5 separate regions of the Homo sapiens genome follow, and regions 1, 2, 4 and 5 are each linked to region 3. The links are contacts of gene promoters, found by promoter capture Hi-C in blood cells and fetal thymus (Javierre and others, 2016). All regions are on one chromosome and are shown on one strand. Each heading gives the region's core, a stretch centred on a gene start or on the middle of the fragment in contact. The rest is flanking DNA. Distances are from core to core; before and after follow the strand shown. Region 1 holds the start of MRPL36 (mitochondrial ribosomal protein L36). Region 2 holds the start of LINC02226 (long intergenic non-protein coding RNA 2226). Region 3 holds the start of ICE1 (interactor of little elongation complex ELL subunit 1). Region 4 has its middle 28 kb from the start of MRPL36. Region 5 overlaps CCT5 (chaperonin containing TCP1 subunit 5).

What was found. The method cuts DNA at HindIII sites, captures the fragments that hold promoters and counts their contacts. A CHiCAGO score of 5 or more calls a contact.
Region 1: a contact is called between the fragment with the promoter of MRPL36 here and the fragment with the promoter of ICE1 in region 3, in 4 of 17 cell types (endothelial precursors, naive B cells, neutrophils and 1 more). The highest score is 10.4, in endothelial precursors.
Region 2: a contact is called between a fragment that was not itself captured here and the fragment with the promoter of ICE1 in region 3, in 1 of 17 cell types (total B cells). The highest score is 5.6, in total B cells.
Region 4: a fragment that was not itself captured here is called in contact with the fragment with the promoter of ICE1 in region 3 in 1 of 17 cell types (endothelial precursors); the score reaches 7.2 in endothelial precursors.
Region 5: a contact is called between a fragment that was not itself captured here and the fragment with the promoter of ICE1 in region 3, in 1 of 17 cell types (activated CD4 T cells). The highest score is 8.3, in activated CD4 T cells.

What each region holds. Positions count from the first base shown.
Region 1 is chr5:1,797,567-1,802,154 of GRCh38, forward strand. It overlaps MRPL36 (mitochondrial ribosomal protein L36), which reads right to left and starts at 2,271. Exons shown (of 2, transcript NM_032479.4): 1 at 2,226-2,271; 2 at 819-1,381. The coding sequence starts at 1,369. The coding sequence ends at 1,058. It overlaps NDUFS6 (NADH:ubiquinone oxidoreductase subunit S6), which reads left to right and starts at 3,841. Exons shown (of 4, transcript NM_004553.6): 1 at 3,841-3,983. The coding sequence starts at 3,852. RefSeq lists a silencer at 1,741-2,150 and enhancers at 3,231-3,280, 3,341-3,470, 3,650-4,588, 4,081-4,220. The HindIII fragment of the contact is 7,489 bases long and covers 1-4,588 here.
Region 2 is chr5:8,455,175-8,459,459 of GRCh38, forward strand. It overlaps LINC02226 (long intergenic non-protein coding RNA 2226), which reads right to left and starts at 2,390. Exons shown (of 6, transcript NR_039984.1): 1 at 2,275-2,390. It overlaps MIR4458HG (MIR4458 host gene), which reads left to right and starts at 2,513. Exons shown (of 2, transcript NR_039989.1): 1 at 2,513-2,592. It also overlaps the pseudogene LOC100419318. RefSeq lists an enhancer at 2,103-2,202 and silencers at 2,723-2,772, 2,783-2,842. The HindIII fragment of the contact is 4,676 bases long and covers 256-4,285 here.
Region 3 is chr5:5,421,427-5,425,656 of GRCh38, forward strand. It overlaps ICE1 (interactor of little elongation complex ELL subunit 1), which reads left to right and starts at 1,251. Exons shown (of 19, transcript NM_015325.3): 1 at 1,251-1,573. The coding sequence starts at 1,490. LOC101929200 (a long non-coding RNA gene) reads right to left here and starts at 703. Exons shown (of 6, transcript XR_001742583.3): 1 at 1-703. RefSeq lists enhancers at 1-497, 498-1,008, 874-1,123 and silencers at 1,154-1,483, 1,544-1,683. The HindIII fragment of the contact is 2,607 bases long and covers 1-1,770 here.
Region 4 is chr5:1,769,302-1,773,414 of GRCh38, forward strand. No RefSeq gene overlaps it. Among named protein-coding and RNA genes, the nearest start is that of MRPL36, 28 kb to the right of the region's middle. RefSeq lists enhancers at 1-26, 27-733, 2,423-2,922. The HindIII fragment of the contact is 2,038 bases long and covers 1,675-3,712 here.
Region 5 is chr5:10,260,605-10,265,064 of GRCh38, forward strand. It overlaps CCT5 (chaperonin containing TCP1 subunit 5), which reads left to right. Exons shown (of 11, transcript NM_012073.5): 7 at 188-307; 8 at 956-1,141; 9 at 1,877-2,014; 10 at 2,530-2,710; 11 at 4,052-4,460. The coding sequence ends at 4,179. Among named protein-coding and RNA genes, the nearest start is that of CCT5, 13 kb to the left of the region's middle. The HindIII fragment of the contact is 8,542 bases long and covers 1-4,460 here.

The DNA.
Region 1 (4,588 bases), core at 1,021-3,520, 3.6 Mb before region 3:
GGGCAGGAGGGCGCTCCCCCCGCGCTAGGCTTCTTGCGTGGTCTCCTGTCTCACAAAACTCCTTTCTGGGAGAAGGGGAGGTGTCCCTGGCCAGGAGGAAAGGAGCCGTGAGAAGGCTGTCGCATCTCAGCATCTGCTCTGGGTTGGACTGTGCTCCCCACCCCCAAATTCATGTTGATGACAGTGCTCCCCCAAGGCATGGGGCTCACTCAACTATGAATCCCGATGACCAGGGAAGGACCAGCCCACTCCATCCCTCCAAGTCCTTACCAGTTGTAGGTGTGGTCATCCTCTAGCAAGGGGAGCTCCTTGCCTCCCCCTGAATCTGGGCTCACCCTAGGGACTGAAAGAGTGCGGTAGAAATGACACGCTGGAATTTCTGAGGCTGGGTCATAGGAAGCCTCGTAGCATCTGCTTGGGTCTCTCGGGACACTCTCGGGAAGCTCACTGTGGGGCAGTGCAAGCCACGCTGTGGGCCCTGCCTGAGGAGGTGCTACGTACAGCCTGAGGAGCACTGAGACCCCAGACAGGAGAGCCGGTGCCATCTTGGAAGTGGGTCCTGCAGTTAATGCCACACAGATCAGACAAACTGCTCAGCTGAGCCCATCCCAAATGCCTCACAAAATCGTGAACAATGTAAAATGGCTGATTTAAGCCACCAAGCCTTGGCTTGTACAGCGACGGGTGACCAAAACACCACTTCTTCCAAGAGGCTCTAAGCAGCCTCACGGAGACATAGAGAAGTCCTGCCCAGCCTCACCCAGCACCATCCAATCCCTACCTGCAGCCTGAGTTCAGAGAGAATGAATGAACTAAGCTATTCGGAAGGTCTATTTTAATAGGAAAATGTTTTTTAGTTGGAACGTTTTGGAAATAAGATAACGCAATGTCTTCTATAGTTACTCATTTACACTGAAACGTGATGGGTAACTTTTAGGGCGTTTGCTTCCAGTCACTTTCCCCTGACTCCTTGATGTGATAATTCCTTCCATAAGATACAACCATTCTCCCAAGTGATGCGATGACGAGTATGTGCGTGACTCTGGAGGGAAAGGGTCTACATCTGTCTCTGCTTGTGCCTCGGATGGGTTTTACAGTAGACGTACCACCGACCCCGCCTCTTCACCAGGTAACAGTCCTTGCAGCGCTTCTTAAGGACAGTCTTGTTTTTGAACCCCAGCGCAGGCAGCAGATGGGGCAGGAGGCCGGGTGAGAGAAGTGAGCGCACTGCTGCCCCGGGTTCCACAGCCACGGGGGCTGCACCTCGAATGGATCCAAATAGAAATGTGGAGAGGGCTCGAGGCTTCACCGTGTGACGACTGAGATAGAGCAGAGGGTTCACCATTTTCCTTATAAAAAGATTTGCCATGTTGTGGTGAATCTATGGGAGAGAGAAAAAAAGGAGTTATAGCTTCTCCTGCACTTCCACCTGCTCTTTAAGGCTTCCTTTTCTCTGTTTCACTGAGGCTTGGGAAGGCAGGGACCTCGGGGACTGAGGGTGTTCCCATACCAGCTGCAGCCTCGACCTGAGCTTGAACACTGCCTTAATCAGCCAAGTGTGCCAGGAGAATAAGGGGCAGTGGACGGTGGCTTCCTTCCCTTTCCCGCCTGCTGCAAGTGTAGGTGAGTGTGCAAAGCCCTGCGATGTTGAGGAGCCGCTCACTTGGCTGGGAGGGAGCTTAAACTTAGGCCGCATCCCTTTCCAAACAGACACCAGGTCAAGGACGGTTCAACTGATGAGCTCCTCCCTCCAACTCTTCCCAGACCCAGGGGCCCTCCCTCGGGCCAGTTTCGGGACAGGCCCCCGCTCCGGAAGAGCACGGAACTCTGGCACCCCGGTCGCCCGCCCCTGCTTCCCCACGCGCCCCGGCCCTTAGGGTTCAGCGGCCCCGGCTGGGAAGAGCTGGGCCTGCAGGGCCCGGAGGACACTGCGGCACCGGAGCCGGCCCTGCGCGCGGGCTGTGAGGTCGCGTTCGGGAGCCGCCAGTTCTCCCGCCCCGGGGTCGCTGGACACCCCCTCCTGTCGCCAGGTCGGGCGCCCACGGTCGGACCCGCACCCCCCAACCCTGGCCCTCTGAGACCGCCAGGCCCCGGCCCACGCTCCTCTGACCGCAGCCCACTCGGGGAGACACGCCCGAGGGTCCCAAGGTGGCCGGCCCCACCCTCTCGCAGCCCCCACTCTCAAGACACCCGGGACCCCTGACCTGAGAAGACGGCTCCCTTACCCGGCCGCACGCTCTCACCCGGCGCCGACCCCTGCGTCTGCGCACTGGCACGCGGACGCTGCTGCCAGGAAGGAAGATGGCGGCGGGGGGGGGGGTCACGTGGCGTGCCCACGTCCAGTGCGGGGCGCAGAGACGCAGCAGCGAGTGCGCAGGCGCTGGAGTGCGACGTATCACTCCCCGACTGCGCGCACTCTGCGGGCCACCGGGATCGTCGTGCTGTTTGGAGCGCTCTCGGGAAAAAAAATGCAAAAACCAGGAACGAAAATGGATATCCGCAACGAAAAAGAAATTACAACCACTTAGGCCTTAGAAAAAACTGGCAAATACCAATGTCAAAACAAACTGAGAAAGAGGACATGTTTTTAAGTGGACAGGAGAAATGTAAACAGGCTCCGGGAAACGAGTGGAGACGGGCAGTAGTTTCAACTGGTTACGGCTGTTTTCCCCAACATTATGAAAAACTTCGGACATAGAGAAAAAGGGAAAGAACTGTACGGTGAACACCCATATACTTGCCACCTAGATTCTACCCTTAGCTCGCTTATCCCTGCCTTTTCAGGTATCTACCCGTAACTCCATTCGCCTTCCTTTTTGTGTGTGTCCGGGTGAGTTGCAGACGTGGCTGCGTCCACTCCGCGCTCCCTGCAGGCCCCAACGCTTCATCGCAGCGCCCACTTTTTCCACCTGACCCGGCGAACACCGGGCGGGCCGCTGGAGTTTATCAGCTCCAGGACAAATCTGCCTCTGACCACCACGTTTGCTGGGACATCTTTGGGACCGGAGGTTTTCATGTGCATTCTTGTTTCTCATGCCTTTCCTCCTCTTTATCATCTTCCCCGCCACTCATCCATCTCTAGTGTTTTGTTCTTGGAGTCACGTGGTCCTCAGGCTCTGACCACAGCAAAAGAAAAGCTGGATGCTGGAGCTTAAGCTGGGATTTATACCCAAGTCAACTCTAAGCAAAACGGGCCTTTTTAGAGGCTGTATTTGCATGCTGTAAAATCAGTCGGTGTACTAGGCTTTGTTGCAGAAATCCCCAATATACGTTTCCTCTGCGGCTCCCCGTAACCACACACAGGAACGCTTGCCTTGAACGAGGAGAATGCACTTCCAGTCTCGTCTGCTAAGCAGTTGACTCCTTCACCCAATAATTTTGATATTTAAATGTCTCATGATTATCGGTTACCATAAGAATATAAACAATGTATTTTCAGTTTACATCCTCCCCTGCCTGTCCGCTAAATAAGAACCACTGGGTACTCCTAATCGCTGAAGGTTTCGCACACCATTGCCTGCCTCATCAGGGCCCTAGCTCTAGCCTGCGGCTGCAACTGCATGAGGCTGCACCTGCCGGCGCAACGGGGCCGCTTAACTTTTAGGCCATTGATGAAAAGTCAAACAAGCGCACAGTACTCGGTGTAATCAGGGGCATTTTTAGCGAGATACCTGGGATGAAAACGGGTGACCACCTGAATCAGAGAGCAGCTCCGGCGCACCCTCTGCCCCGACCCGCGCTCCCCGCCCCCAGGGCGAAATAAATACCGGGTGTTTGGCGCCGCCAGAAGCCGTGCGCATGCGTTAGCGCTAAGCGGGACGTTGCGCCGGGTCAAAGGCCAGCGGCGCAAAATGGCGGCGGCGATGACCTTCTGCCGGCTGCTGAACCGGTGTGGCGAGGCGGCGCGGAGCCTGCCCCTGGGCGCCAGGTGTTTCGGGGTGCGGGTCTCGCCGACCGGGGAGAAGGTCACGCACACTGGCCAGGTAACGGCCGCTGGGTACAGGATGCACCTTCCTCCAGCCGCACCTCGGGCGACTGGTGGCAGTGGGCTCGCCGGGCATCCGCGGCCCTGGTTCTGCGCCGGCAGCGCAGGTCGTGGTAAGGTTGTGCTGTCGCTCACGCGCCGGGGAGGACGCCCGCGAGTCGGGACGGTGGTGGCAGCCTGTAGCGGTGGGTCTCGTCCTTCCAGGGCCTGCGGGCTCTGGAACGGGAAGTCTCCCCAGCGGGCAGCACTTGCTGTGGACTGGCTGCCCATAGGCGATTTGTGGCAGCCGATTATTTGGGTCAGAACGTTTAGAATTTGTGTAATATTCAATAATAAATTTTAGTAACCTGAGAAGTCGGTTGTAGTCCAAGGCACAAAAAAGCCCTAAGCCAAAATGAAGAACAAAGGTACCTGTGTATACTGGAATGTGCCCTAGTAGATTTAATGGGGGGATAGTAAAGCTCTCAGGCCATATGCCAAAGAAGGTTGGGGGCGGTTCTCCTCGGTCAGGATTTGTCTCTCCTCCTTAGCTCCACCTTCCCGGGCTATGTCTCTGTGCTGCTCTCTGATCCAGGTGACCACCCGTTTTCATCCCAGGTATCT
Region 2 (4,285 bases), core at 1,344-3,843, 3.0 Mb after region 3:
TCGTGATCTGCCCACCTCGGCCTGCCAAAGTGCTGGGATTACAGGCGTGAGACACCACCCCTGGCCCAGGAGTCAGTTTTCTATATCACTTGACTTTCTTTGCTCAGAAAGTCCAGCAACATGTTGCTCTAGGTCTTTGTTTAAAAAAATGTTATTGTGCCCAAAGTATTTAAAAATTTCTAAGACTTAGTATCTATTTCCTTATTAGAACTAAGAAAAAGAGAGCTCACAGGTAGTGTCTGATCAAAAACCACAAGCTTGCTGCACACTTGGCCTATTTAGGATTCAAGTTAGAAACTGTCAACTGAGAGATGTTAATTATCTTCTTTTTAAAAGTTGCTTGTAGATCCACTGTTTTAGCCCAGAATATTTCATAAAATGACACTGATACGTTTTGAATATATGTCCCCACCAAATCTCATGCTGAATTTTAATCCCCAGTGTTGGAGGCGGGGGCTGGTGGGAGGTGTTTGGGTCGTGGAGGCAGATCCCTCAGGCTTGGTGCTGACTTCCTGATACTAAGTTCCTGCAAGATCTGGTTGCTGTAAATTGTGGCACCTCCCCACCACTTTTCTCTCTTCCTCCTGCTGGCCTTCCACCATGAATAAAAGCTCCCTGAGGCTTCCCCTGGAAGTCTAACAGATGCCAGCAGCATGCTTGTACAGCCTGCAGAACTGTGAGCCAATTAAACCTCTTTTCTTTATAAACTACCCAGTCTCAGGTATTTCTTTATAGCAATACAAGAATGGACTAATACAGACACATCATTTTTTTGTGTGTGGTAAATTCTTCCAATTTCTCACCTTGCATTCCCAGTGCTGCCCTAACTGGACCTGGGGAGTTTCATCATACTTTCTTCAATACAAAGATTGTGAATACCTATGAACTCTTTTAAGACAATTTGTATTCTGCCATCAGGCTTCCTAAGCTACCTTGTGGATCCACATGCAACAGAATCAGAACTTTCAAAGCAGTCACCAAACATGTAACTGACAACTTAAAAAAAAAAAATTCAAAATGAAATTAACAAGCACCAAGGGTGTTATTATTCTCTTATATTTCTTTTAGCAGCATTCCATCACTATCTGCTTCTTCCACTTCAGAAACCTGCAAAACTGCTGTAGAATATCAAGCAGTTGTTCTAGTGAAGTCAATTATTTTTTAGCTCACTGCAAAACATCTGTTGACCCACGTTTTAGTCTTCTGTTCACTCTCTTCCAAGTATGTACTTGGGAAAACAACAGGACATCAACCAGGCAAGCTCATTACCATTTTCCACAGATAAATCTTTACAGTCGGTGTGAAAAATCTCACCCTGAACTATGGTGGCTGTAGTGAAAAGAACCATGGACAGACACAAGTATGACTTGTGAACATGATTCATAAAGCACCCAGAGCCCCAGTGTGGCAACACCAGATGAATGAAAAAGGTTCTACCATGTTATCAAAATCATGTCATTCTCACTTTCCCTCAACAGTACCTAAATTTTAAAAAGAATATAAGCATAATGATGAAATACTACAAAAGTATCAATTGAGATCACACTGCACTCAATGAAAATTATCCATGTTTATGAAAATAAAGATCTGTATCCAAAAAAATAGCAAAGTGTCCACAATAAATTATAAACACCAGGACATCAGGGACATTGATCTCTATATCCCAAAGCCTAGAAAAGTGCCCAGCACCTAATAACAATACTAACTTTTGAACATTTCACCACGTGCCAGGCACAGTTCTGATATGCTCCATGTTTCAACTTAAGGCTTACAGGCCAGGCTTACAGGCCACCAGTGAATCTATAAAGTTTCAGTTTATATATGAGAACTGAAGCACGGGATTAGATAATATTCCGAGACAACACAAATTAGTAGCAGATGGGTTAAACTCAGGCCGCGCATGTCTAGAATATGCACACTTACATGCTTGTTGAAAAAACTGTGTTGATTAGTATCAAACTAGCTTTAGAAAATAGAAGTTAAAAAAGGCAATAGACTTTGGCAAATTATTTGAGTAAAACGTCAAATGTCAGATATGTCGAGGCATGGGTAGCCTTCTAAGGGGTCACGTCTATGGAAGGAAAAAGTTTGGCTTAACAAATAGGAAAGTGAGAAAAAGAATGAAACAGTAAAATAACAGGATCTCGTGATGGGGAAAAGGCGGCCTGCCCAGACCTAAACGCCTCGCGGCCTCGCAGGCGACGCGGGGATGACTCAGCAGGACAGAAGGGAGGGAAGCTCCAGACGCCACGGCCCTCTTCGAGATGAAAGTACCTCCCATCCTAAGGGACTGGCGTTCCAGGAACAGCTGCGCTGGCTGAGCCGGCTCAGTGAGGCGGAGCGGCCAAGCCTTCAGTCCACTCCCACTCCCCGATGAAAAACCCAAGACCGGGTAGCGCAGCCCCTCCGCGCACGCGTAACACGAGGAGACACCGCCCACACGCCAGACGCGCTGTGATTGGCCCCAGCTACCCTCGGACCGAGATTCCTATTGGTCCCAGGTGTCGAGCATGCGCACTTTGGTCGTGGGCGCGTGTGTGGAATGGGAGGAGGTCGCGCTGTCCATGGGCGTCCTTGGCCTGCGCCACCCAGGTGAGCGCTCCGGAGGCTGCGATCCCCGGGTCCCGACCGCCCGCCTAGCACTGGCCTGATGGGGAAGCGTCCCGGGACTGGAAGGGCAGCCGGCTTGCGCGCGTGGTTCCCACGCCCCTCGGGCTCGGGGGATCGCTCCGGGTGCTGGCTGCGGGCTCGGCGGGGAGGACCCCGGGAGCGCGTCCCTGGGCCCCACGTCGGCCTCTGCGCGGGCAAGCCCCTGGGCTCTTTGGCTCTAGACGCTTTCCAGGCCTGGGGAAACCGCATGCGTGGACGTGGGAAACGGGGCGCGTGACGGGGAGGGGCGCGCCCCGGGGGCCTGTGGTCGTTCCGAGCTTCCACCTGGCCCGACGCAGGCATGTGCCCTGCCCGCCGCGTCGTCCCTGGGCCTGCGGGGGCTGGGGCCTCAGCTGAGAGTCCTGGGAAGGTGGTGCTGGATTGTGGCTCTGTCGCGGGGATGAGGGGTTGATCTGGGAAGCCCTCAGGATGTGTGTGTGGCTCCTGGAAGGTGACGCACATTGTTAGCTTCAGTAAGGTTTTCAACACCATGTTTCCGCAGAACTTGGTCATAATAACTATATCGCCTTCTAATAGTGCTTTTGGGGAGTTACTCATTTTAACAGCTACTACGTGTTGAATGTCCTCTTGTTTGCCAGGTGCAGTTCTCATCCCTAGGGGTGGAGAGTTGAAGAAGATATATTCAGTTATTTTCTTTTTTAATGCTTGAGCTAACAATGATTTTATCCTTTGCTTTCTTAAAGGTTTAATTTGCTCTTAGGTGGACAGAAAAGCATAAACTGAATTTTAACTACAAGTTGGTCACAGTTGAAAAGCCTCATGTGTGGTTTGAGTTTTAGCTTAGATCTCTCCTTACATGTCTTTCCTGACAGCTCCTCAGATTTAGACAGTGTGAGGATCAAAACTGTATGAAGGTGCTTTACTCTTGATAATCTGTGAACGTCAACTAGGAAAATTTTGAGTGTATTAGAAATGTTTTTCGAACTCTTTGAGAGTCTAGGCAATTTCACTTGGGTTCTGTGATTAATTTGCAAAGTATTAGGATGAAATCAAGAAACCTGCAGTTTTAATTGAATTGACTTTGGTTTTGTTTCTCAAAAAGTGGGACAACAAAAATACCTACTTAAGACTACTGTTTCAGGCACTGTCTAATTGCATTCATCAGATCTTATTATATTCATTCCATGAGGAATCGAAGACCTATTCAGTCAAGCAGCAGCCCAAGGTTACACGTCTAATAAAGGGCACATTCCCAGATCAAGCCCATGTAGGCTGACTCTAGATTCTGATTTTGAACTGCTCTGTTTCTGAATTGGAGTTTAACTCCTCTGTTACCCCTAGATTAATGGTGAGTATTTTCTCTCACCCAAGTTAATTCCATTAACTCTAATCAGAACCCTAATTTAGCATATTTCCAGTACAGTAGTTGCGGATCCATCCTACTCTAGAGTTTTTGTGCTATGTGTTAACTGTCTTTTATAAATGAAGGGACGGCTTCCTCTGTAACATACGGGAGCATTGTATAATCTTTGAACAGGCAAAAGCATTCCAGAGAAAAGATAGATGAATTTCATATATTTTTATTAAAACAATTTTATTAAAACATAGATAAATACTGGATTATTTAAGCAAGTTGCAGTCTATGTAGGTTAACCACTAAGCTATGCTTCCTCTC
Region 3 (4,230 bases), core at 1-2,500:
TCTATCACCGGCAGGTCCTCAGTTAGGTACACGCCTGTCTTGCTTGGGTGTCAACGACAGGAAACTTAGCTATCGCTGGATGTCTGCTTCCGCCACTCCACAGCAGGTGGTATCCAGAGTGTGTAAGCAAGGTCAGGGGTGCGAAATTTGGAGAAGAAAACTCAGAGAAAAATGCAGACTGCTTTTTTTGGAAGGGGTGTTTTCAGTTGCAATTTCCATACTGAGGAGCTAGAAATTGGCTGGTAAGGTCTAGACATTAACTTAACTAAACGTGCATTCCTCCTCTTGAATTTGGACTTTATAAGGAATTTGGATTGTATAACCACACGATGGAAGCTGCGAGAGGCTTCTGAACAAGGTACTGACGGCGACCAGCTGTGATGACTAAAAAGACGATTCTGGTGGTGGTGGATACGGTGGCTGGAGATAAGAAAAACCTCGGTTCAAACGAGATCTGAATTTACCCACTAACTACGACCACGAGGAGTTTATTCCTTTATCTTTCCGTTTTCTCTCTCTCCCGAGAAGTGTCAAAAACAGGATTTGGAGGTGGCAGGATAATGGCCAAAATGGGTAGACAAGGTGGCGAACGATTCAACCAGGCTCTGGGCTTGGCGCATGGTGGGCGGTGGCGCCCACACCTGGGCCTGGGAACCCGCCGCTCGGGCATCACTGGCTGCCGCGGCGACCGGCGAGGACACATGACCGAGGAGCGAAAGGTCAGAAGACAAGGGGACTGTTACAGGAGCAGGGGAGCCGCCACTGGCTGCTAAGGCCGTGCAACTGGCGCCGAAGCGCACGATCTCCGCCCGCCCCGCAGCGCGTCGGGAACTGTAGTCCCTCCCTCTCCTGCTCCCTGGCCCAGGACGGGCTCCGGGACAGCGCCTATCCCTCTAGCTGTAAATCACGCACTTTCCTGTCCTGGACGCCGGGTCCTTCCACTTCTCAGGCGTCTGGAGCTTACGTCACGGGCGGGTCACCGCCCACATAGCGGAGGCCTTTAGGTGTCTATGGAAAGCCTGTCGTACAGCAAGGTGGCAATAAAGGATCGACCCTTAACAGTGGTAGGAATGCACCTTCGATCCTTCTACTCCTATTGGCTGCTCCTCTGTGGGCGTCTCCCCCGCCGCATAGCACAGCTCCTCTCCCGGTGTTGCTCAGGCAGCGCCTTAGGCAGCCCCGCGCCCAGGGGAGGGGCGGGGCGAGCCAGGGCGGGGCGGGGCGAGCCAGGGCGGGGCGGGGCCCTGACTGGACTGCGTCGCGCTCGGGGGCCGCGCCGGGTAGCGTTTCTTTTTAGTGCCTGAGGCAGCTCTGGCTCGGAGAGCCTTTTGCTAGCCCCACGGGGACCTCTGTGCACGGATGGACCCGCCCGGACCTGGCGGGAAGCGGCCTGGCAGGCGGCGGCCCCGGCGGCATCAGCAGAGACAGGACGGGGCCGACGCCGCGGGCCCCTGAGGCGTGCGTGCCCACCGGGCCCGGCGGCGGCACCATGATGCCGGGCGAGACCCATTCGGCGGCGCCCGGGACGGCGGCGGACCTGTCGCGATGTCAGGGCTGCGCCTCTCTGCAGCAGGTGCAGCACCTCCCGGGGCCCCGGGCGCGGGGGGGGACTCGGCTCGGCCGGCCGGGAGCGCAGGGATGTGGGGTCCGGCCGCGCGGGCTGTGCCTCAGTGCGCTGCTCTCCCTTCCCAACCGTAGCTCTTGCTCGCTCGTCTCTCTGCTCTCTTTTTCCTACATGAGTTTTGGGGACGGCTTTCTTTGCTTTATTTAAGCTTGAAACCCAGAGTTCATTGACTGGAATGCGCTGGTGTAACGGTGGGGGTGGAGTAAGCGAGGTTTGGAGGGCCCCCCACCTTCCCTACCCGGCCTCGGAGCTCCCTAGGGCAGACTCCGTAGGTCAGTGAGGGACAGGTGAAACGCCGAGGGCAGTTATCTCCCTGAGGATAACGCTTTGGTCTTCTGGCCCATCCTGAGTATTTGTTGTTTGGAGGCAGAATCTTACGTGACATGTGGGTTGTCTGAGTCTTAGACTCGAAGAGTCTAGGGAGGCGTTTCAGCTTATAGCAGATGTGCCATCCCGAGGCTAATTTTTTAAAAAGCAAGCCAAGTAATTGGTCAAGTAGCTTGTCAGTTGTTTGATAAAAGTAGTTTATGAAAGGCATGCAGAGACTGGAGGTTTCTAACAGCGGCGTGGGCTCTTCTTTAGAGTGACATAAGGGAGAATTGCTAGAGTATGGCTCCAGATCTTATGGGGTGGTACTTGGGCAATAGTGCCCCTCATTTCCCACGACTCTCCTAGCTGCCTGATGTCGGGGGTCTCTTTTAACTTCCTACTATCGCGGTTTCAGTGATAAAACGGAACTCACCAGCACCTCATTACCTACTCTGCCTAGTGTTCTAGGAACTACAGACATTGTGGTGAACAAAATAGGATCTCTCATAAGTAAGATGCATATGTGTGAATAAGGCCTCAGAAGATTTTAGGTGTTAGAAAATAAAGGAGGATGTTGGAATATTGGTCTTGTCTCTTAGCTAGAGTAGTCAGGTAGGGAATTTTTGAGTCAGTAACTTTCAGATATTTGAATAATGGGAAGGATCGGGCTGTCAGAAGAGATGTGGGAAGAGCTTCCTGGATAGAGGGATTAACAGGTGGAAAGGTTCCTTTGGTGAGAAGGAGCAGGGTGTCTTTGATGAGCAGAACATGGTATGGTTGGCATGAGCATAGTGCACACGGAAGATGGTTGATGAGACCAGACGGGAGTGCAGGCTAGGTAGGCCATGCCGAGAAACTTGGTTTGCATTTTAAGTGCAATATCTGTGAACTGATTGCAAACATTTTAAGTGTTGAAGGAAGGGGAGGAAGGAAATGTGCTGCTTTTGTGAGTAGAAGGAGAACTAACAGATCATTGCCTTCACTGAGCTGCATTGTGTAGGTATCTTATAACGCCCCCCCGCCCCCGCCACCACCACCCCAGGAACGTGATTGGAGTTCTCCCGAATCTTTAATACATTGTATTTATTATTCGAGCCAATTCACTCAACAAACATTTATTGATCACCTGCCGTATTTTAGACACTGCAATTATGGCATTAGGGGAGAAAAAGACAAAAATTCTTGATCTCTTGGAGCTTCCGTTCTAGGAGGGTGGCAGGATAAATGAAACAAATGAGTTATGTTAGAGGGTAATGAAAACGTTGTTGATGAATTGAACAGAGATGGGGAGGGAATGAATGGGTGAGGACTAGGCCAGTGGCTGTTGGAATTTAAGTAGGGAGTCCTGGAACGTTTATATTGGAGCAAAGGTGAGAGAATAATAAGCTCTGTAGAAATCTTGGAAGAAAAGTCTCCCATACAGTGGAAACATCAGATGTGAAGAACTGTAGCAGGAGCTGGCTTGGTGTGCTTGGGAAGAGCAAGAAGGCCAGTGAAGCTGGAGCGGAGTGAATGCTGGGAGTCAGGAAGGTAGGAGGAGGGCCTGATTGTGTGGGCTCCTGTAGACCATTGTTGGGGTTTGGGCGATGGAAATGGTGAGTCATTGGAGGCTTTTGTGCAGAAGAACTACTGATGTGAACTGTGCTTTTCAGTCATGGATCTGTTATGGTTAAATTTAGCAACTGTATTCTTCTGGTTGCTTAGGCCAGAAACTAGATGGCATCCTTGGTGCAGCTCTTTTTTTCTCATAACCTGTATCCAGTTTATCAGATTGTGTCCGCTCTGCCTTCATTATTCACCCACTTTTCAACATCTCCACTGCTTCCACCGTGGTGTGAACTACTCTAATGTATGGCCTAGAAATTGAATCTCCTTCCTTCTACCCTTGCCACATTTCCTGCTGTGGGTTCTCAAAACATCAATAAGAGTAATCCTAGATCCAGAGGTCTGCAAACTTTTTCTGTAAGGAGCAAGATCACAAGTATTTAGGCTTTGGGGACTTGCTCAGAACTGCTCAGCTCTGCCATTTTCATGTGAAAGCAGCTGTAGACAATTCACAAAGAAATGAGTATGCCTGTGTTCCATTGAAACATTATAAACACTGGAGTAGGGCCTTAGTTTACAGAGTTCTTCTCTAGGTCAGGACACTATTGCATTTGGATTTTCTGTGGCCTGGAATTGGATTACCTTTTTAGGGGAAAGTTACGAGTAGAGTCTCTGGAGGAATTCTGTAGTTGTGCAAAGTGAGTCTAGAAAAATAGGTTCCTGGCAGTTTATAGAGAACCTTGAATGGTAAC
Region 4 (4,113 bases), core at 1,444-3,943, 3.7 Mb before region 3:
AGGAGCGCCCCTGCGGGTAAAGTCACATGTACGCTCTGTTCTGGGCTCAGCAACCGAGTCGTAGGAGAGACGGAGTGGCCTGGGGCCAGGTCCTGAGTCCGAGGAGCAGCTGTCTGGGCTCTCCCTTGGCCACGAAGCAGCTCACACCGAGGGCAGGAGCAGAGGCCTCCCGGCCCCGGGCGGAACCCCGCAGGAGGGCCTCCCTGAGGCCAACGTCTCTGGCGCCACCTCCCGCAGTGTTCGCTGGAGCCCGCGGCCATGCAGGGCCACACGGACCCGGGGGCTGCGCAGAACTGGGGCCCTCGTGCACCGTGGGTGGGAATGGAACGTGGCGCCGCTGCTGTGGAAAACCAAAGGGCAACTCCTCAGAAAGTTAACACAGAATCTCTATAGGGCCCAGCAATCCCACCTCCAGGCCTATCCACAAAAGAATCGAAAACAGGGGCTCCAAGAAGTACGAGTACACACATGCGCATAGAAACCGCATGCGCAGCAGCCGAGAGGCAGAAGCAGCCCAGACGTCCCCTTGACGGCTGAGTGCATAATGGGGCCTCCATAGAAGGGAATATGTTTCCGCCACAGCAAGGGACGCCGCACTGACACGGGGAACCGCACGGGTGAACCTCGAGACACCGTGCTCAGTGGGGTTCGCCAGACACAGAAGGCCACAGAGCGCACAATTCCTTTTACATGTAATATCCAGAACCGGTAATTCCGCAGTGACAGGGGGCTGCCTGGGGCTGGGAGAAAGGAACGGGAATGACTGCTCATGGGTGCGGGGCTTCCTTTTGGGGTGATGAAGCTGCCCTGAAGTGTCCAGAGGTGGCAGCTGCCCACTGCGAGTGTGATAAATGCCATCGAGTTGCTCACTCTAAAAGGGTTAATTTTGTGTTGTGTGAATTTCACCTCAGTTTTAAAAAGAAGAGGACTCTGCCCGGTCTCCCGAGGCCACCATGACCCCTGGAGGTATAAAATGTGCGTGCAAAGGGCTCACCCAAGCTCTGCCCTTCTGGGGCGAGCACAGCCCCGGCCAGCAAGCACCATGCGCTTTGGATGCTTCGGAGGCTCCCCATGGAGTGTTTTCCAGACACTTTTAATGTATTCAAGTTTTATTTTACAGAAAAGTGGTGGTTATGTGTGGGCCCAGGGGCTGAGACACTGCTTGCTTGTTTTATTTTTCCTTGTTTTGAGGCACGTCGTCTGGTTTTTCTAAGGAGCACTGAGAAGGGCTGGAAACCTGAATTCACATAACCCCCACCTCGCCGGGTGGTGCCTGTGTGGCAGCAGCAGCCGCTGTGACAGCAAGCACTGGTGGCAGAAAACCTGGACGGCTTCCTAGAGAAAGGTGAAAGTCAGGGCATGACACCCTGGCTGTGTCCTGAGGCACATCCAGCAGCCTCTCCTTTCTCCAGGCTTCTGGGGATGCCTGTTTTGTGAACACAAGTTCCCTTCACTGTCCATAGTGCAGGTTTCTGAAAAGCTGTGGGAAAAATCTTCTACATGTACATTTAAATATCAGATGGAGGAGACCTCAGTGTGTAATCAAACCTATCCTTTGTGGAAAAGAAAGAATTCATTTGTGAAACAAATCACCAGTCCCAAAGCATCGGCTCCATGACGCTGGCATTTTCTCTGCCACTCACTATGATTTTGACCTTGGACTTCACCTCCTCAAGCTTCAGTTTCTTTGTGGCTTGTTCCATAGTTTGTTCTCATGTGTAACTGTCTGGGGGAGAGGGGAGCTCCTCGGAAGGGGGAGATGTACTTTAGATGGTTGATGGTGAAAGAAAAGGAGAAAGTAGCTGATGATGATGCACTACTGACCCAGGGTGTTATCAAAGAGTCGGAAGGAAACAGAGCCCCAAAGTTGCCATTTATTAAATACATTGAACTTTACTATAGCAAATAAGAGGGTGCTCTTGACCTATAAAACAGGGATCATAATTTTCATCTCACAGTGTTTAGTGGGGATGATATGAGATCATGGAGCAATGACGAGTACACTCACATTTTTGTGGACATTCCGGTTGGTGTGGACTAGCTCATCCAAGTCGACAACTGAATTCTATGCCTGTTGTTTACAGTGCAGAATAACAATGTGCACCATGTAAATGTAAGGTGACACTGCAGTCATTACAGGATGTGATTGATCAAGATTCATCCAGCTGCTTAGGAAAGCAGGGGCAGCCCCATAGGAGGTCCCCTTGGCAGGGCTGGGAGCTCTGTCAGCAGCAGGACAGGTTATGGATCACAAGAGACTGGCCCAGGATCAGAAGGACCTCATGGGGCACATCCAGGCCAAGCACCCGGCTCAGATCTCAGCCATGTGAGGGCTCAGCTTTCAGGGAGGGCTCGCGGGGGTGAGGCAGGAGTGCAGGTGAGTCCTGAGAGCTGCCGCACAGCGCCGAGGTTGTAGTAGGAGGAGCTGCAGGATGCATGCTCTCAGGCTTGTCACCGAATCAAACCAGGTCCGTCTGCCGGCACACAGTGGAAAGCCGAACACCGAAGCACTGGGTTTTGCAGCAAGAAAGATTTTTTGCGAGTCGACTGGCCAGGAGACAGGAGGAAGTGCCCAGATCTGCCTCCCCGAGCTGGGGTTGGACCAGGTCTTCCAAGTATGCACTAATGAGCTGTGCTGCCATGGGGCTGATGCTGGGGCTCCACTGATTGGATCCTGGATCCTCATTCGGTCCCCGTTCCCCAGCCCCAGCACTTAGGTTCCCCCATGTTGCACACGTGGGTTGTCTGGGCATGCTCAGGTTATATGACCTTCAGCCTGGGGGTCCACGGCAACTGAAGAACAAGTCACAACTCCATTACACGGATGTTGAACCAGATTGGCCAGATGTGGCTATAAGCTGGGCATGGTGAATCCTGCCTCAGCCAGAATTATGTGCAAAGTTGGAAATGAATGTGTTGCCATGGGCTGAGCCCACGTGGCTGCCGGGTTCTGGGGGACGTGGACCCATTTTGTGTACGTGGCTCATGCATCTTGCCAAAAGGTTCACTGGTGTGGTTTATCCTCAGCACATGTCCAGGGAGGCCAAGTGCAGTCACTCCACAGTGCTTTTCTGAGCCTGCAGAGCCATTGCCACACCCGGGAGGCCTGGACACCCGCAGCCCTCATCAAATCAGTTCTCACACCTGGGCCTTCATTATTCTCAGTCTGTGTCCCATGTGCCACACAGGTGGGTTGCTGGGAGTTCAGCTGCAGACACTCCCGGGTGCAGTGTTCAATATGAGTGAGGGAAACTGAAAAAGGAAATGAAGAAGGGGAAGGAGTAGCTTCTGGGACCTGTTGGATAATGACTGTCCCTTAGATCCAAATCTGTCCACATATCCTCTATAAAAGCACAAAGAAAGCAAACAAAACCACCCCCAACCAAACAGAACACAGAGAACAAATAACACAAACTTCAACTGACACATAAAAGATGAAACAAACATTTGAACCCATCAGAGCTGGCGAGGGGGCCCACAGCAGAGCAGAGTGAGTTGGAGTGTGCTTGGAAGACAGGAGGGTTTGCAGTGCCCACGTGTAGGAGGAAACCCATGACATTCACCAGAGGAGACGTCTGCTCCCCGAGAGAGGGAGACAAAGAGGAGGTCTAAGGCAGATCAGAAAGCTGTGCTGGGAGCTGAAAGGACGATGCTTGGAATATGCACAGGACCCATGGATGCAATCCTGTGGACAACTGTCTGGGGAGAGGAAAGCTTCTTGGAAGGGGGAGATGCCGCTTTGATAAGGGCGCTACTGACCCAGGGTGTTATCGAAGAATCAGAAAGAAACAGGCCCCCAAAGTTGTCATTTATCAAACAAATTGGACTTTACTGTAGCCGATAAGAGGGTGCTCTTAAACTAAAAAATGGAGTAAAACACCCAGACTCCCTGCACAAGGCATCAGCTACCACTGGTTCAGGAAAATCTGACACAAATAATCCTGAACAAAATAAGAAATCAGCGTCCAGCCATAAAAATTGACTATAAGAGAGCCAAAATTGAGAATAAGAATAGAAATTTCAGCAGGAGAAAAACCTACCTCAAAAAATCCTCAAAGCTAATGAAAAGTGTACCACAACCCTCCAAGATAAACAAGCAATTGCAGATTTAAA
Region 5 (4,460 bases), core at 1-2,500, 4.8 Mb after region 3:
TCACTATTTAGAATTTGGAACTGACAGAAAAGTGGACACTTGTCTATTTCCTTCCTTCTCTTTCCTTTGCTTTTGTGTTTGAGTGCACCTGCCTTACACCCAACTGTGCCTCTCCTTTTTTCAAACATTGTAATGAAGAATAAATACCCACTTTCTCTTAATACGATTGTGGTGGTTCTTTTCCCAGATTAAAGAGACTGGTGCTAACCTAGCAATTTGTCAGTGGGGCTTTGATGATGAAGCAAATCACTTACTTCTTCAGAACAACTTGCCTGCGGTTCGCTGGGTAGGAGGACCTGAAATTGAGGTAGGATGTTCCACGTGAAGAGACTTTGAGAAGTAGGGGTTCATCTTATGTGTTGAGGGGTGTTTTGATAGCCCTGCCTTAAATAACTGCATCACACCAAGGCTGGCAGATGAGGGGAGGGTGAGCTGGGAGAGAGGAAAGCGCTGGAATCTTTGTTACTGTTTGGATAACAGTGCTGTGTGTTTCTGGTGTTCCCTGGCATTTTGAAATTCTCTCCCTGTGTTGTCTCACTTGGCCCTGTCGTTGACTTACTAAGGCTGGAAGACCTGGTCTCATCCAAATACTAATGGCAGTCCCAGGCAACGGTGCCTCGGTGGTTCTCACTGCAGCGCAGTGCAAGGAACATGCAGGCTGGGTTCCCAGAGTGAGGGAGGGCTGCACAGATGGGAGATGAGGGTATGAGCTTAGGGGACGGGCGCCGGGTGATAGATCTGGGCAGCACCAAAGCCCCAATCAAGACGTCCAGCTCAAGAGCCTTGTTACCTAGCAAGGTGCTTTGGGTTGAACTGGAGATGTCTCGGTCAAAGTGGGGCAGCAGTTCTAGTGAACAAGTTGGTCTTAGATCAAGTTTTGCTCATTTGTGGCCCAGTTTTGAAAGTTAACTTCACCAGTACTGTCTTCATCCTTCTCCCTGACCACCCCAATTAGCTGATTGCCATCGCAACAGGAGGGCGGATCGTCCCCAGGTTCTCAGAGCTCACAGCCGAGAAGCTGGGCTTTGCTGGTCTTGTACAGGAGATCTCATTTGGGACAACTAAGGATAAAATGCTGGTCATCGAGCAGTGTAAGAACTCCAGAGCTGTAACCATTTTTATTAGAGGAGGAAATAAGATGGTGAGAATTCAACTATTTGTCCTATACTGTTGCTTATTTTGCTTCATGGTCTGGCTTTTTTGCCTGTGTGTATTTAACAGAGACACAGTCACCATAAGAAAAATAATCGTGGTTCTCAAACAATGACGTATCATGGTGTAAAATTACTGAAGACCATGTTAAATTGTTAATTTCACAAGGCACATTTGCCTTTCTGCTGTCCCTTAGAGTATACAATATACACTATGAGATTTTTATATCTTTTTAAATACTTAAACACAGTTTAAATATTCAAGTCCTGGATTTTAGAATGTTTGATACAGTTACATTAGGGGTTGGTTAAACTGCTAGCCCTAGCAACATAAGACTCATTTTAATTACAATATGGTATTATTACCAAGGATGACTTACATCTGTCCCTTAGGTAGAAAAAGGGAACCCAAGTGAATAACCATTGACGATCTCTGTTCTTTGAGAATGAGTTTTTAGCACATTGTGATAAATCTTTGCGAGTTTTGTCAGTTTTTGACTCTTGCTTGACCGTGTATCCTAGAATGAGTCACTGGCCGCCTCTGCCTCTTGAATTTTGTTAACTACATTGCAGGAAGGAAAGCTAGAAAGATAAATATTATCCGATAGTGGAGGCCATCTAAATATTAGAGCACAGCCTCTCTGTCTTTAAAAAGGTGCCAGATACTTGGCTCTAAATTGACTAGATCTTGATCACATTAATTCAGGCAAAGCTGTTTTCCTTAGATCATTGAGGAGGCGAAACGATCCCTTCACGATGCTTTGTGTGTCATCCGGAACCTCATCCGCGATAATCGTGTGGTGTATGGAGGAGGGGCTGCTGAGATATCCTGTGCCCTGGCAGTTAGCCAAGAGGCGGATAAGGTAAGGGATCTGTGCAGACTTAGTGAAAGATTCAGGCCTCGCTGATGGTGGAGACTGTGAAGCTGCGGAACAGCGAGGTGCTGGATGCAAAACAAGCATCGTGAGCTGTGTGTAGGTGACAGGTGTTTTAATCTAAGTTAATTCCCACGTTCCTGTATTCAGATTCTGGTTACCATAACCTAGCATTTCTCAGCTGTTTTCAGCCAGTTCGTCCTTGAAATAATAAATCTATAGTCTTTTAATGTTATTTGAAATTCAAAATTAATATTATAACTTAAAAATAAAGCCATAAGAGCTGCTGTATTTTGAGACATCTCTCACATGTATGTATACCCTCTGCCTGTATTCTGTGGTGACATTATAATATTCTGATAGATACAAAAATAAAGACAGCCTGTTCTTACAATTCTTTGTGAGCTGACTTTTCAAAGTATGTGATACAGTTGTGTTTTCACGGTGCCGCTGGGTTGTTTTGTTTCGCCAAGTGCACTCACCATACTTCTGTACCTTTCCAGTGCCCCACCTTAGAACAGTATGCCATGAGAGCGTTTGCCGACGCACTGGAGGTCATCCCCATGGCCCTCTCTGAAAACAGTGGCATGAATCCCATCCAGACTATGACCGAAGTCCGAGCCAGACAGGTGAAGGAGATGAACCCTGCTCTTGGCATCGACTGTTTGCACAAGGGGACAAATGGTGAGGAGCTGTCACGCCTCTGCGTGGAGGGGGGGGGATGTCTGATTTAAACTGAATAATCATCCACTGTATGTGCTGTGAGATGATGGTGTCTTTTTAAATATGTAAGCCCACTTCAGGTGTTCAAGTCCTGAATTTTAGAATGTTTGATTGCCGTAGGAATTGGTTAGACTACTAGACCTAGCAACATGAGACTCATTGTAATAACAGTAAAGTGCATATGGTACTATCACCAAAGATGACTTAGGTTTTAATCTCTGGTTTTTGGGAAGTAATGCCTTATTGCTGTTTTTACACAGATGTCTGTCAGTGGGCAGCATATATATAACAGCTCTGAAGTGGGCTTTAGTTCACAGTTCACTGTGTGGTTAATCCTGCACACTGTGGAGTGTTTTCTAAATGTAATATATAACCTCTGTAGCCACTTGTGTAGCTCGGCTCCCAAAAAGATATGGTGGCTGTAGCTTGTTGAAACAGTGGTCTCAGGCATTTCTGTACTAAATCAGGCCATGTCTGTAATCCATCCACAGAATGACAGCTTTTGCTTAAAGGTATAGGTACATTCTGCTTTCCATGCTCAAATTCCAAGGGTTTCAATAGTAGCAACTCTTTGTGAGGCAAACATTTAATGTTTCTAACTTGAATGCCTGGTTGTGCTCAAATTTAGCATTTCTAGGGCCGGGCGCAGTGACTCATGTCTGTAATCCCAGCACTTTAGGAGGCCAAGCCGGGTGGATCACCTGAGGTCAGGAGTTTGACACCAGCCTGACCAACATGGTGAAACACCATCTCTACAAAAAATACAAAATTAGCCAGGCCTGGTCAGGGCAGGCACCTGTAATCCCAGCTACTCGGGAGGCTGAGGCAGGAGAATCGCTTGAACCCGGGACGCAGAGGTTCCAGTGAGCTGAGATCGCACTGTTGTATTCCAGCCTGGGTGACACCTGTCTCCAAAAAAAAAATTAGCATTTCTAGATCTTTCTTGGAAATATCTTACATTTCAGCTGTGGTCAGATGGACTTACTTTAGATTTCCTAAGTTAGGGTATGGATACTTTGTGGGATAAGATGTTCCTGAAAAATGTCACCCTGTAGCTAGTCATTGAAGACAGTGCCCTCCCAACAGCTCTCTTTACCAGGTGCGAGTTCCAGAGTGTCCTTGGAAGTAATGAAATTACATTCATCTGAAAATGAAATATAACTGAAATTAGTGGCTTCCTGCTTGGCTTCCAGGAGTTTGTATTTCTTAAGTCTTACTGTGATTCCCTAAATCAGAAAGAGTTGGTTATTGATAGTTTATTGTATGCTATTTTAGGATAATCAGTGTCCTTGTATTTTTCAGATATGAAGCAACAGCATGTCATAGAAACCTTGATTGGCAAAAAGCAACAGATATCTCTTGCAACACAAATGGTTAGAATGATTTTGAAGATTGATGACATTCGTAAGCCTGGAGAATCTGAAGAATGAAGACATTGAGAAAACTATGTAGCAAGATCCACTTCTGTGATTAAGTAAATGGATGTCTCGTGATGCATCTACAGTTATTTATTGTTACATCCTTTTCCAGACACTGTAGATGCTATAATAAAAATAGCTGTTTGGTAACCATAGTTTCACTTGTTCAAAGCTGTGTAATCGTGGGGGTACCATCTCAACTGCTTTTGTATTCATTGTATTAAAAGAATCTGTTTAAACAACCTTTATCTTCTCTTCGGGTTTAAGAAACGTTTATTGTAACAGTAATTAAA